Regions from separate parts of the Homo sapiens genome. Here region 1 is linked to region 2. The links are contacts of gene promoters, found by promoter capture Hi-C in blood cells and fetal thymus (Javierre and others, 2016). All regions are on one chromosome and are shown on one strand. Each heading gives the region's core, a stretch centred on a gene start or on the middle of the fragment in contact. The rest is flanking DNA. Distances are from core to core; before and after follow the strand shown. Region 1 overlaps NKTR (natural killer cell triggering receptor). Region 2 holds the start of CCDC13-AS1 (CCDC13 antisense RNA 1).

Region 1 (4,109 bases), core at 761-3,260, 100 kb before region 2:
TTTCATCTCTCTTGCCTTTTTATTCTCTGAGAAGGTCCCTAAAATTGTAGTTAATGCTGCTTTATTATTATGTTCAGTGACTTAACTTCAATGTGTATCTAATATCACTGAACAGTAACTAGGGTCCGAACATTTGCTCATTAACTCCTGAAAGTAGTCTGTTGTGATACGTCACCAAACAAAGGTTTCAAATGTAGAAGCATGAAAGGTTCTTTAATTATTTGATGTGAATTAGTTAAAAGTTCCTTGAAATTTTATTTTGGATGATCTTAACTCACTTTTTTCTAATGAAATTTTTGCTTTCAACTGGTAGTAACTGGTCCTGGGCATTCAGATTTTTATATTTATGTATGTATGCAAGATACACTATTCTCTTTTGAGAAAATGTTGTCTTAGCTAATTTCTGGGATTTGTGAAAGGAAATGTAATATGTTAATAGCTATTATTGGCACTCTATGTTACAATATTAAGGATCTAAATAGATTCCCACTTAGCCACGATGCTTTTCTTAAGCATAATTCATCTCTACGTAAATATCCCATATGAAAGAAAATTTAGAGCCCTCCATTTAAAAAAGCTTTCTTGCTCTGCATAAAACTTGAAAATAATTAATTTCAAAGTTATATTGATATTAAAACATAGATTCAGTCTTGTCTTAAAAGTGTATTACAATTTATTTCTTGCCATTTTTGTGTAAAATTTACAGAAAGAGTGTTACACCGTGCGCTCCAAAGGTAATGTCTCATTACTCTAAGGCTCTCTCTCTCTTTGCCTTTATCTCTTTAATTCTGTTGTTATGTGCATTGAAACATTTTAAGAAAAAAAAAAACTTTCTGCTTTATCTGTATAGCAGCAGTACATGTAAAACAAGTGCATTTTATTTTTCATGGTTAATCCTGGGAACTATATTTTAACTTCAGTGGCTTGTTTCCACCAAGTTCCTGTACATCTTCTGGTGGGGGAGTGGGGTTATTAGTTTATAGTATGGTTTTAGTTCTCATTTCAGTGTGGAATTAGTCATTTCTGTATAAGGGCAAAAGGTTCTCTGATAATGGTATAAAACTATAGATTGTTTTTGGAGTAGCAGTGACACTTGTCAATTTCTAAGATTTATAAGGCTTAAATACCTTGCACACATGTTTTTTAAAGTAGATTCAGGGGTCGGGAAAACTGAAAAATCACTGTCTTTAAGTACAAGAGAAAAATGGAAATGCATAAATATTGAAAGGTTTTACAATTTGAAATGTTCTTTGTGGTTTTTTCTTTTTTAGGTATGTTTTCATAAGCATATATAAATTTAAACATTTTTGATAGCCTCTGGCCTTAACTTACTGAGCATGTGTCACCATTGCACAGCTCTTTAAACAGCCGCTTTTAAGATCAATGCAATTTTTCTTTTAATTGAAGATTTTGAAAGATTAAGAGTTAGTGAGATGAGCTCTCTGCCTCTTTTAGTAGAATTGAATAGTCTGGATTGTGGATATTATTTCTCTCCGCCCTTTTGTAACCCTCTTTGGCTAATGTCCTCTGTTCATCCACGTATTAGCCAAGTGCCAGTAACCCTGCTTTACATTGGGATTTCTACTCCTGGAATGTAGGTTGAGAACCCCAGAGGGCTTCTTTTTGTTAAATACTTTTAGTATTCTTAATATGTAATCTAATCCAATTAAAGTGCAGACTTATATTTCTGTATCTTGAGTTGCAGATGCAAGTAATGGACTTTAATCATTCATATCAGGTTTAGGCACTATGGGCAGGCTGAGTTGTCCTTGAAATAGTCATTCGTGTCTTCATTTGTTTTCTGCACTACTGCTATAAAGGACCAAGTTTGCCTATTCTTGGCAGTTTTCATTTGAATTAAAAACTAAACTTGAATGTCATAAAGATAGCTATTCCATCCTCAAATTGAGTCTCAAGTAGTATGTTGCTGCATCGCTACACTACTCTGGAATGTTTTATTCCACCATTTTCTCCAAAGGTTTGCCATAAAGTGGTTTTTACAGCCTTTCTATCAGCCAAGATGGCAAATTGAATTGGGCTCTTTATGTTTTAAGAAAAATTTGCAGGCTTTCCCCAATACTGCAGGATCTGTGAGTCATGGGAGGAACGGATCAAAGAAGGAGAAGGAATGTATCTAATCAGGAAACCATACATCGTTTTTACTTCTAAATATTTGGGGCTGATCCCTTACACTGTAGAAAAATTTACTTTTTTAAAAGCCCTTTTGGCTGGGTGTGGTGGCTCATGCCTATAATCCCAGCACTTTGAGAGGCTGAGGCAGGTGGATCACCTGAGGTCAGGAGTTTGAGACCAGCTTGGCCAACATGGTGAAACCCCGTCTCTACTAAAATTACAGAAATTAGATGGGCCTGGTGGCGCATGCCTATAATCCCAGCTACTCAGGAGGCTGAGGCAGGAGAATCACTTGAATCCGGGAGGCAGAGGTTGCATTGAGCCGAGATCATGCCATCGCACTCTAGCCTGGGCAACAGAGTGAGACTCCATCTCAAAATAAACAAACAAATAAAAATAAAAGCACTCTTTACATCTTTCATATAATAGAGTCACTAGCTTCTGTACCAATTTCTTGTCTTTAGTGTACTTTGGTAAAGTTTTATAATTAAAGCACATTTCTATCTTGAAGTTACCATCCAAGGTGGTTTCTGGATGCTAGTTTAATGATTTAAACACTAGTGGCTCACTAATTCACTAGATAGTTTTTGTTCTGTTTTCTTTTTGCTGCCTGTTTTTATTTTTATAATTACATTGGCATGAATTTCCACTTTTCAATCTTCTAAGGAATATTTGAGATTTTTGCTTTTAAAACTTAATATTTCCTTTAAAATTCTGGAACTTCTTAAGTTGACATTTTAATTTTTTTAAATTAAATTCTGTAGTGCTCTTACAGAACCGAATATTCTTAATGTAAGTATAAGCATTACAAATCCTTGTAGAATAAATATTTTTAGCATTGTTACGAAGGTTAAAAACTGGGTTTTGTTCACTTACATGTCTTAAAATTGCCTTAAAATGAATACAGAAATTTATATGGCAGCTTCTAGTACAGTTGACTGCTTTAACATGGCCTGACATCTAGTGATATTTTTCTCTCTTTCAAATTTCTGTTTTCTAGCTCTTAAATATCTGTTTCTCATTCTTATAAATCAAGATGCTTGTAGTATATAATTCTGAGACTAATTATCTGCTTTTGAATTTTTTCCACTGCAATTCATATAATGTGAAGATCTGTGAAAATGCTATGGGAAAACTAGCTTGGGTTCAAAATATCTTAACCAAATATACCCTGTAGGCTTCCCAAGAGTGACTGTCTGACAGTTGGTGACTGTAGAAGAAGCTGGTTGGGTGTTTTCTGGGCCAAGGAAATTTAAAATGTCTGCAATGTTATCCATCATTACTTTTTGCTGTCAGAAGGGATGGCAGATTGAAGCTTTTCTCCCTATCGCATTTTCAGAGTTGCCGTGTCAGAGCTTCACCTTGGGTGAAGGAAGATGGGCAGGAATTCTGGAAACAGAACTCCTGAGACCTACCTCTGCCTGCCTAAAAATGTGGACTGACTCAGTATGAGAAATAACAAGAAAACATTTAAGTGTTTGGGGCAAATGTTAATCACTTTCTTTCCATAGGGCAAATAGGAGGTGCTTTTCTTATTTAATTACGCTGATAAATTTTGAGGGTTTTTTTTTTTAAGTGTTTTGTTTTGTTGTTTTGGAGTTGAGAGTAACTTTAATTTTTATGTGTATTCATGCTGTGTATTTATGGCTACAAGTCAAACTGATTTCATATGTATGCATACATATAGTCTAATAGAGATGATTGTAATTCATTATAATCTTGAGTTTTTTAAATTAGTAAGATGGCTACTATTGCTGTTTTGGGGTTTTTAAGGTTAGATATATATCATGTTTAACTTTTTCCCCTATCTTTTTATCTTTACTTCTTTGTTCTCTACATGCTGTGTTTAAACCTTTCTGCTCTCTTCACCTGAACACATCGTGTTTGACATCATCTTTGTGTTGATGTTTATTACATAGTACCACAAAGCCTGCTCCACACCTGGATGGGTAAGAGTTACATTCTTACTACATTGG
Region 2 (4,397 bases), core at 559-3,058:
GTCCTGCTGAAGTCCCTAGGCTCCAAAGCTGAACCTACCAGAACTAGAGTTACACTGGTACCTCTGTCCATCCAAGCCCTGTGGGGGCCTGGAATTAGTCTGGTGCTGTGGCAGGTGGCTCTTGGGGACCTGGGGTGCCCTGGGTATCTGTGTGGCCTTTGGGGCCTGGCTGCCCTACCCAGTGTCAGGTGTGCCCAGTCTCTGTGTCCCTGCCAGTCTCTCCCAGCCCTCCTGCATCTTCTGGCTTGGTCCCCAAGCCCAGCCCACTTTCCTGGAGCCTGTGCATTTGGCTTTGTGACTTGTTCAATTTTCTCCAGCCCTAAGCCAACCCATCACTGCTTCCCTCTTACCTGCTGGCTGGAGCCAGGACAGAAGGTAAACTCTGCCCCCCAACTTCAACCCCCCAGAGCCCACATGTGAGTTCCAAGCTGCTCTCCGCTGTGCCCCCACTTTTCCCAGTGAGACCCTGAGCTTACTTTTCTAGCAGTACAGGGCATAGGGAAGGCTGCAGAGCTGGGCAGTGTACTGAAAACTGGGCTGGGGCATGTGATCCTGAGGGCTGACTTCTCGGTGGTCTTGGGCAGGTCTCTTCCTCTCTCTTGGCCCCAGTTCCCCCACTAAACATTGAGAGGGGTGGTTTAGATGGGCTCCGAGAACTGCAGACCCCTCTGTGACTCCTAAATATGCTCTAAGGCCTTGCTACTACAAGTGGTCTCTGAATCGGTGGCTCTGGCATCTCCTAGCAGCTTGTTAGAAATGCAGAATCCCAGGCTTTACCCCAGACCTGCTGAATCAGAACCCACACTTGACCTGGCTGATCAGCAGGGGCTCTGTGTGTGCACTGCAGTTTGGAAAGCCCCATTCATTTCCCCAGTTCTAGAATGTGGGAAGAGGAGGAGCAGGAGCAAAGGGCCGATTCTTCACTCTGCCCTCCTCCCAGGCACCCCACCAGAGTCACCTGAAGGGAATGGGTTCAAACCATGCCAGCCCGAATAGACATACTCTCTGGGATCACTCTGCCCTGTGAATTCCTGTCCTGTCACCTGTGGGAGGGGACTGTAAGCTCCATGAGGGTAGGGCCCACACATGGTCGAGTTTAGTAAGTATTTGTGTGTTGTGGAAGAAACAAGCCTGACAACCAGCAGTCTGGGCAGCCAAGGCACAGAGCAGCTCCTGTATTTCTGTGTGGCACAGAGGTCACAGCCACACAGGCCTGGAAGGGGCTCGAAGGGGTCATCTTGTCCATCTTCCTGCTCTCTTTACTGTGACTAAAACCTCAGAGAGGCAGAGCCTCCCCAATCTCCCTGTGCTGTGACAAGACCTCCCACCCTAAGGAGCGTGGCACATGCCTTGTGGCTCAGTGTCAGCCCACTCTCCCCAAGTGCCTTTATGACCCCAGCCTGATGGGTGGGGCAGCTTTGGCCCACAGACCCTATGCTGCCAAGTGTCAGCAGCATGCTGTCCCCCACTTTTCGGGGATAGCAGCCCAGAGAAGGACCAGTTTGCCTGGAGCCACAGAGATGAGGGACTGGGGCCACTTGGAGGCTTTGCCTGGAACCTGAGCTGACCTGCCTGAGGGGTCAGGGTGGGGAGTGTTGACAGCAGGAGCATGGCTCCAGTGGACAGTGGGCAGGGCTCGGGACAGGGCTTAGAGGCAGGACAACGCTGTCCTTTGTCTATGGGCTGGCAGTAGGAACAAAGGGCCCATTTACACCCTCTGGCTTGATTCTGTCAACAAAGAGGGGGCCCAAGGTCTGAGGGGATATCAGTGGGAACCCATATCATGTGAAATTCTCCCCTTAGAGGCTGATTCTCAATGAGCAAGAGAAGATGAGGGAAGGTGCTAGAAGCCAGGCCCAGGAAGGTTCCTCAGGTTAATTCTCACGTAGCAGGTAGGAACCCTAGCCTGGGAGTCAGAGGCCAAGATTCTAGTTCTGAAGCTGCTTACTCTATCATCTTGGACAGGACTTCCCTGATCCTCCCTGTCTTTATGTAACCTTGGAAGAGTCCCTGGACTTTGCCTGGCCTCAGTTTCCCCTCCTTTTAATGGGATGGCAATACTGGTTGAGCAATCAAGAATGGGAAAAAACTGTGAGAGTCCGGGGGTCGGGGGTCCATACCTAGGTGAGGTCCTGTGGGGACTGGGCAGGGAAGGCCTCGTGAGAGCAGATTCCACCAGTGTGTGGCCCAGGCTGGTCACAGAGCTGTGTAAAGGCGGAAGGGGCCCATCAGCCTGGGAAGGCAGACCAGGCCCTACTGGGCCTCACCTCTGCATGTGAGGTGGAGCAGTGGCCAGCAGGGGTCCAGGAAACCCTTGCAGCAGTCCTGTGGATTTGCTGCCCTTCTTTCCAGAACTCTTGTTTGCTCAAAATGAGACAGAACAGGAGACACCAGAGCCTTGAACAACCCAACACGGGTCTGTTTGAAGGCCCCAGGGGCAGAAAACTTTTGAGGCCAGCTCAGAAAGGCTCTTACAGAGAGCTGCAACCAGCATGCTCTTGAAGTGATAAAATCTGGGCCTAACCGGCTCATTTCTGCAGACGCAGAGCTAATGTCATAGGAGAGGCCCACGTATTGGAAGAACAACAGCATAGTCATCTTAAAATTGCACCTGTGGCTTCCCATCAGAGGTAGCAAGAAACAACCTTTCTTCCGAATAATTAATGTTCACTTTCCAACCCCTCCCTCCCATTGTTTTCTTACCGAGAAGATCCAAGCCTGCCAACATGATCGCCTGCTGAGGCCGGGGACTTGGTCAGGCCTGGGTCCTCCAGGAACTGGGTATAGGCAGGGCTGACCTCGCGGCCACTGGACCCCTCACCCACTCCTTTATTCCGAAGATACTGTAGGAACAGATGTGGGTTCCATCCTCAGGGCTTTGGCTCAGAGGCCTAGAGAAGGCAGGAGGGGATCTTGGCTTGATTTCGGGGCTTTCAGAGGATATGAAAGAGGCTTCTTTTCAGGAGTGAAAAGCGAGGCCTGTTTGGTGAAGGCACTACTTGCATGATAATGACATCTAATAATGCCTCTCTTCAGAAAGAAAGCTACATGGTGTGAGGACGGTGACTGGGCCAGGAAGCTGTTCTACATTCAGGTTCCAGAGGGAGGTGCACGGCCCTGCATGCGGGGCAGGTCAGAGACTGACGTCTCTGAGTGGGTCCGCTTCTCCAGGCGGCCCCACCCACATGTGGTTGAACACCAGGTGTGACTTGAGGCCAGCTGCCTTCCTCAGCTGGAACACCTGGACCTTCCAGACACCTGCAGCCAGAGAGGCTGGCAGGGACTCAGTGAGGGCAGGCAGCCTTGGGTGGAGGCTAAGCCTGCCAGGCCCCCACCCCTCCCTCAACCCCTTCCTCTTCTGGATACCTGCTGGGGCTGGACTGGACAGGAACATTAGAGGACCCCCAGCAGGAGGTCAGGCCACCAGAGTGGACAACCGGTGTAAGCCCCTAACAACCTGGCTTGTCCCCCAGCCCCACCCATTTTGAGAAAACTCGAAACGTGTGCCGACTTAAGTCTGGTGGGTAATGCTTGGCCCCCATTCAGCTGGTGACCTCGGAGGTAGGAACAGTCTTCTCCTGTGTGCCTGGAGAAAGGACAGTGGTGAGGTGAAGATGCTGGAATCTTCCCCTTCAGACTTCCCTCCCCAGTGAGCCAGGATGGGGAGCAGGGTGAGTCCCCATTCACTGCCGTATGTGCTCTGTTCCCAGACTTCCTTGTGCCCCCAGGCTCCCCTTCAGCCTCACAGCACTATGTCACAGCCAGTCCTGGGGCCCCAGGCTACCCTGGCCTGTGGGAATAGAGGCTACAGGACAAACCAGGCTGGTCAGCCAATGCCAGACTGAGGCAGGGCCGAGGGGCTCTTGGGCTCTCACCTCTGAACAAACCACGGATCCCCAGAAACAAAGAGCAGGGCTGCTTTGCAACATGCCTTTGGCTGAGCCAGTCAATTTCCCAGTGGGCCAGAGGCTGCAAGGCTCCTTTGTCACTGGGAGACCTGCATGCCTGTCAAGAAATTCTCCCCAAGGACACCACCCAGCCCCACCACCACCCCAGGGAGGTGAAGGTGCCTGACTCCTAGCAGCCCCAAGCTGTGCCCTCAAGGCACCTGCCAAGACAAAATATCTTTACAAGCTCATGCCTTAGACAAGCATTTATTGAGCATCTACTGTGTGCTTGCTCCAGTGCCAGGCACTGAGGCACCACGGTCTGTGCTCCCTTACAGAGAGTGCAGGGGAGAAAACAGGAAAATGACTACACAGCGTGAGAGAAGTTTGGTTTGGGGATGCATAGGGAGTTAGGAGAGTGCCTAGGAGGGGAACACAACACAGAACAGGGGTCCTGGGGCTTCCTGGAGGAGCTCCTGACTAGGTAAGACCTAAAGGCTGAGGGGCAGC

Evidence for each region. Contacts are between HindIII fragments. The CHiCAGO score rates a contact against its expected background, and 5 or more counts as called.
Region 1: a contact is called between a fragment that was not itself captured here and the fragment with the promoter of CCDC13-AS1 in region 2, in 3 of 17 cell types (M2 macrophages, M0 macrophages and M1 macrophages). The highest score is 8.2, in M2 macrophages.

What each region holds. Positions count from the first base shown.
Region 1 is chr3:42,626,494-42,630,602 of GRCh38, forward strand. It overlaps NKTR (natural killer cell triggering receptor), which reads left to right. Exons shown (of 17, transcript NM_005385.4): 7 at 4,053-4,082. The region is part of intron 1 of ZBTB47-AS1 (ZBTB47 and NKTR antisense RNA 1); the gene reads right to left. Among named protein-coding and RNA genes, the nearest start is that of ZBTB47, 25 kb to the right of the region's middle. The HindIII fragment of the contact is 2,871 bases long and covers 576-3,446 here.
Region 2 is chr3:42,730,767-42,735,163 of GRCh38, forward strand. It overlaps CCDC13-AS1 (CCDC13 antisense RNA 1), which reads left to right and starts at 1,809. Exons shown (of 4, transcript NR_046732.1): 1 at 1,809-1,892. CCDC13 (coiled-coil domain containing 13) reads right to left here. Exons shown (of 16, transcript NM_144719.4): 11 at 2,704-2,843; 12 at 2,121-2,204. RefSeq lists enhancers at 1-178, 1,531-1,825, 2,355-3,040, 3,041-3,724 and a silencer at 1,531-1,825. The HindIII fragment of the contact is 15,297 bases long and covers 1-4,397 here.